2 separate regions of the Homo sapiens genome follow, and region 2 is linked to region 1. Evidence: promoter capture Hi-C in 16 types of primary human blood cells and fetal thymus (Javierre and others, 2016). All regions are on one chromosome and are shown on one strand. Each heading gives the region's core, a stretch centred on a gene start or on the middle of the fragment in contact. The rest is flanking DNA. Distances are from core to core; before and after follow the strand shown.

The links. The method cuts DNA at HindIII sites, captures the fragments that hold promoters and counts their contacts. A CHiCAGO score of 5 or more calls a contact.
Region 2: a contact is called between a fragment that was not itself captured here and the fragment with the promoter of ATRX in region 1, in 1 of 17 cell types (total B cells). The highest score is 6.0, in total B cells.

Annotation. Positions count from the first base shown.
Region 1 is chrX:77,784,830-77,787,708 of GRCh38, reverse strand. ATRX (ATRX chromatin remodeler) reads left to right here and starts at 1,493. Exons shown (of 35, transcript NM_000489.6): 1 at 1,493-1,727. The coding sequence starts at 1,708. RefSeq lists enhancers at 1,420-1,609, 1,620-1,729 and a silencer at 1,830-1,879. The HindIII fragment of the contact is 7,766 bases long and covers 681-2,879 here.
Region 2 is chrX:80,805,291-80,808,169 of GRCh38, reverse strand. All of the region lies in intron 4 of BRWD3 (bromodomain and WD repeat domain containing 3), which reads left to right. Among named protein-coding and RNA genes, the nearest start is that of BRWD3, 3.1 kb to the left of the region's middle. The HindIII fragment of the contact is 274 bases long and covers 1,210-1,483 here.

The sequences.
Region 1 (2,879 bases), core at 244-2,743:
TCTATAATTGCCAACTGAACTCAAACATTTGAAAGATATAATTGCAATGTGTACAGGCGTCTGTTGATTAAAAAGTTGCCTGAGGCCAGGCGCGGTGGCTCACCCCTGTAACTCCAGCACTTTGGGAGGTCGAGGTTGGAGGATGGCTTGAGCTTAGATGTTTGAGACCAGCCTGGGCAACAGACAGACCTACCTCATCTATACCAATACATAAATACATAATTAGCTGGGCTTGATGGCACGCGCCTGCAGTCCCAGCTGCTTGAGAGGCTGAGGTGGGAGGATTGCTTGAGCCTAGGAGGTCGAGGCTGCAGTGAACTGCGTCACGCCACTGCACTCCAGCCTGGGTGACAGAGCTAGACCCTGTCTCAGAAAAAAAAAAAAAAAAAGTTGCCTGAGCCTATCAGATTTTCAAAGTGTTTCATTCAAAAAAGGCTCCCCTCTTGCTATCCCAGTAGAAAGCAGCAACCCTGTCACCTAACCCCGACAGGAGCTCTTGCATATTTCAAGAAAAATAAATAGAATGAACTAAAGCATGCATGGCAGAATAAATTTGGAAATAAATTTCGAAGCGATTAGATTTTAGAGGACTTGTTTGTGATTAGCAGAGATTACCAATGTAAAATCAAATTATAGATCATAAAAGCGGGAAAGGCATTTACAGATCATCCAGCCAAGCTTCCTCTGTAATGAGAAGGAAGCAGATCTAAATTGATTGGTTTGTGAGCTAAACATCACATCAAATTGGGGAAATGGCCCGTGTGTGTGTGTGTGTGTGTGTGTGTGTGTGTGTGTGTGTGTGTATTCTAAGAGACACTTTATTCAATATGGAAAGAATTTTATGCAGCGTTCAAGTTGGTCTTATGTCGTCTGCACACATATACATATATATAAGTATATTATACACATATACATTTCCAAGCATGTTGGTGTGCCAAATATTATGTATAAAACATCTAGGAAAGCAAATAACTTGATGATAGCCTAGCATATAGGAAAGAAAATACTTACATAGGATGGCCATACAGATTAGTGGTTAAGAGTGTCTGGTGAATCTCGGCTCCACTACTGTGGGACTTTGTGTCTTGGTTTCCTCATCTGGAAAATGTAGGTTTGTCTACCTCAGAGAGTGTAAAGATTAAATGAGATAACCCGGATAAAGGATTAGTGTAGTGCCGAGCATATAGTAAACTCTCAATAAATGTAGGTTGCTGTTATTACTTCGTTAATATGTCAAAGAAAAAAGAGGTTGGACCAAAAGAGCATTTTCAAAATAAAGTCAAACTATGTCACTAGCACTTTCAGGTCAATTGGGACTAAATTGGACCCCCTGCGAAAAGGTGGAGGGGATCAAATGACGTCGACCGCCTTAGCAACAGGCCCCCAAAGAAGGTGAATTTCCGTAGCCAATAAGACTCTGTGCTTTGGAGGAGGTAGCCAATGGCTGACGGAAAGAGAAAGAGGGAGGACGCGCCAATTCTCCTGCCTGAGCCTCGGCCCAACAAAATGGCGGCGGCAGCGGTGTCGCTTTGTTTCCGCGGCTCCTGCGGCGGTGGCAGTGGTAGCGGCCTTTGAGCTGTGGGGAGGTTCCAGCAGCAGCTACAGTGACGACTAAGACTCCAGTGCATTTCTATCGTAACCGGGCGCGGGGGAGCGCAGATCGGCGCCCAGCAATCACAGAAGCCGACAAGGCGTTCAAGCGAAAACATGACCGCTGAGCCCATGAGGTAAAACGCAACCCCGTCTCATGGGCCCCAGCGGTCTGGGCCCAGGCACCGTCTGAGTCGGGTGTTTGGGAAGGCGTTCGCTTGGTGGGTTAGGCCTGTGTGTTGCTTAGCCGAAAGAGGCATCGTTTTCTCTTTAGGTGAGAAGGGTTTCGGGGTATCGGCGCAAGGCTCCGACGGGGGTGGGGGTGGGGATGGGGTGGGGGGAGGTGGGGGGGGCGCGGCCTAGGGTATGGGGCGCTTCTTGCAATCTCCCCTAAACGGTGACGCTTGGTCGGGCTCCTCTGTTTATTCTTTGGTGCCTGTGGGATTGAGACCTCGAAGTCGGAGGCGGTCTTTGGTATCCCGGTCATTTTTGCTAATCTTTGGGCCTAGAAACTGCGTGGGGAAGAAGCGGGGGGAGGGTGAGAAGAGGGGGAGGGGTGGGCGGGCGCGAGGATGTGAGATCCCAGGACGACTTAGAGGCGTTTAGGTTGCTGGAGATGGGAAGCACCCGGGCCCTGCGGGATTTTTTTTCTGCAGCCCCAGGAGACAAGCCTTTTTTTGATTGGGTTGTGGTGCAGTTCCAGGTATTTAGGTATCTTTTCTACTCCATATCCTGAAGGATATCCTTGGGTTTATTTCTAGGCGAGGGGGGACTTAACACAGGGTTTTGCTTCCAGAGGACCCTAGTATACTACTTTTTGTGATGTCCAGCCTTAATGGGACCTCAAGTGTTTCCCCACTTTCTGGGCAAATTTCGAGGAGTAATTAGGCCCTATCTTTATTTACTTATTTATTCCATGAAGGATGAAGGGCAGGTTAACGTGGGCTGATGCGAAGTAAGATTTATTGCAAGGGAAAATGCCTGGCAGGCCTCCTCTTAACCAATCAAGCACGTTTATTAGGTTGAAGCTGTTTTTCTGTGTGCTTCTGATTTGCCTCTTGACGGGTCTGAAAATTTGGGTAGTCAATATGAAATGTATACACTTTTACCCAGGTGGCTGGCTGGCGTTTCAGTTTGACATTTGAATTTTCATCCCACAATGTGAATTAAGTAATTTTTTTACTCGGAGATGCATCCTTGGCGTCCAGTGGCAAAATAAAATTACAAGGAGCATGGGTCAGAATTGCATTTCAAGTTGGCGAAATGTGCCTTTGAGTAACTCTTAGATT
Region 2 (2,879 bases), core at 97-2,596, 3.0 Mb before region 1:
CAGCCCGGAGTTCCGGATTAGTGGAAGAAAACTGGTTTCTGGTTGGTCCTGGCCTGAAATACGGGAACTAAGGCCAGGCTTGGTCTTTTTTGGGGGGGGCGGGGGGGCAGGGGGGAGGCGTGGGAGGAAGGGGCTCTGGAGGGGAATTGACGGACCAGGGATTAGGAAAAACGACATAATTAAAAATAATAAGGAGCGTCAAGCCAATTTCAAATTTTGCCGGTTAGGTAATGGTCTACTGAGTAAAAGCATAATCGTTACGTATCTCCGATTTTATAAGCTCATTCAATTATCAGTTAAGTCGCATTTGCATAGACCCGTTTTCACTAAATAGAAACTGAGTTATCACTTTTTGAGAATTGGTGAAACACGATTTTGGGTTTACAAGGAGACAACAATGGACATATTTAAAAATGGAATATACTTTAGTGAAGGACCAAAGGCATTGGTCTATGTTGTTTCTCCTGCAAATATAATTCATAGTATAAATGTACCTTGTGTTCAGCATTGACACACAAAAACAGGTGATCCTTTTTATTTTGCGGGGGAGGTTCCCTTGTGTTAGCTGCTGCCACAGTGCATTGGAGGGTAGTGAAAGGAGAAAGGAATGATGTTACTAAAATCTAAATTCAGCTATCTTTCCTTCAAGTAAGATCCAAGTGGAGGAAAATCGGACAAAGTTAAAGAAAGTTGGCGGTGTATGATAGACTCTAAATATAAATGATTTAAAATTTGCTTGCAATAAGACTATATTTAAATTGCTTCAATGTTCATTTTGTTATTTTTGTTTGTGTTATCTTACAACAGTGAGGCCACATTATTATTATCAAGTCTACCGACTGTATAGTTTTCTTATATTTTGCAAATCACAGAAAATGGTATAATTGTGATAAGGGTAAACTCGACCATCTGTATTATTAATAGTAACAATTTCTCAGATGGAGAAAAATTAGTTTTGAAAAACTTCATGTACTGCCAGGTTAATTTGTAGTCAGTCTTTCTGTTGGACTTAAGTCTTTCCCTCCCCCTAAAAGAGGCAAAAACAACAGTGCCTACTAATATGTTTTAACACTTAATGACTGATACAGGTTTTTATATATAGTTTTAATACTGAGGTGTATTGAAAATGTTTTCCTTTACATTTGTCCTTCTCACAGCCTATATGTGTTATTTTAAGCAAGTGGCAAAGGAGATTAAAAGGAAAAAGCTTTTTTGAAACTAACTTGACAGTGATAAAAAGGAAATGAAAATCAAAGTAATTAAAAAATAGTCTCCTCACCAAAAAAACCCCAACAACCCAGTTTACTAGACTTTTCCTCATATTGTAAAGACATTTTTACATAATTGTGATCAGTGTCCATTTTATGCTTCATATTTTTCTTAACATTTAAAAATGTACTTGTGTATTTGAATAGTCATCATTATTTTAATGGTAAGAAAAAATTCAGTTGTATTTAAGGTACGATATGATTTGAACCAAGCTTCCAGTTGAGCATTTGAGCTACTTCCAGATTTTTACTAATAACTTTGCATAGTTAGGTGGTCTTTTTCTGCTTTTTACTTTCTCCCCTATCCCTTCTGCCCCCAGTTATTTTCCTGGACTTTATTCCCTAAAGTGGAGTTACCAGGTCAAAGGGTCTCATGAGTTTTATAGCTCTTGTCATATATTGTTTGCTCTCCAGAAGATTGTACTAATTTATAATGTCATCATCTAGGTATTTAGAGTGAGTTTTTTAATAGCTTTAAATCATTCAGTTTCTTTAATATTTAATAGATGGCAATAGCTCCTGGTTGACTTAAGTAGCTCTTTTTTTTTCATTACTAGTGAGGCTTAACCTTTAAGGAATTAAATAAAATTGTTAATTCTTACATATACTCAATTTTAACGTATCTTTTAAATATTCTTTTCTGTTTTTATATTTTCTATTTTTTTTACGTACACAGAGTTTGTTCTGTTGTTTGAACATTATAGTTTAGATACCATGGTTTTCTTTTACATGTCTGTTCTCTACCTATGGACTTCTTTGTAAGAGAAGATGGGCAGGGTTGAGTGATAATTTGAACAGAAGTGTAGTGGCTGAGAAGTGAATGTGCAGTGTTGGTTTGATTGCTAAGTTTGTCAGTAATATTTTTGATTAAAATTATTTCACATATGACCTGATTTTGAGTGGCTGCATTGTAGAAGAGATGGGATACTTTTTCTTGGGGTAGGTGTTTTTGTTTTTTTCTTTTTTTTGAGAGGGAGTCTCGCTCTATTGCCAGGCTGGAGTGCAGTGGCGGGATCTCGGCTCACTGCAACCTCCGCCTCCCAGGTTCAAGCGATTCTCCTGCTTCAGCCTCCCAAGTAGCTGGGACTACAGGCACGCGCCACCACGCCCAGCTAATTTTTGTATTTTTTAGTAGAGACGGGGTTTCGCCATGTTGGCCAGGATGGTCTCGATTTCTTGACCTCGTGATTCGTAAACCTCAGCCTCCCAAAGTGCTGGGATTACAGGCATGAGCCACCGCGCCCGGCCTGGGGTAGGTATTTTTTAAATTGTTATTGGAATGATAGATTTATAAAGTGTGGTCTTTGATTTAGCTGCATGTTTTGGATTGAAATTTAGGGCAAAGTATTAATAGTATCATCTTGATTTACCTGGAATATTACATTATATAGCAGCATTACAAACTTAAGGTGTATTGGGGTATGAAAAGGAAAGAGTACAAATGTACAATGAAGTGTTAACTAGGATATCAACATAGTAAATAGGGGTTGCATGGCCACGTATACTGCATATATGAGACAAAAATCCTGCCTTTTTGTTCATATGTATACTTTCATTTGAACTGATTGTCATTAATGCTTAATTTATCAGAATAATATTAAGGTAATGATA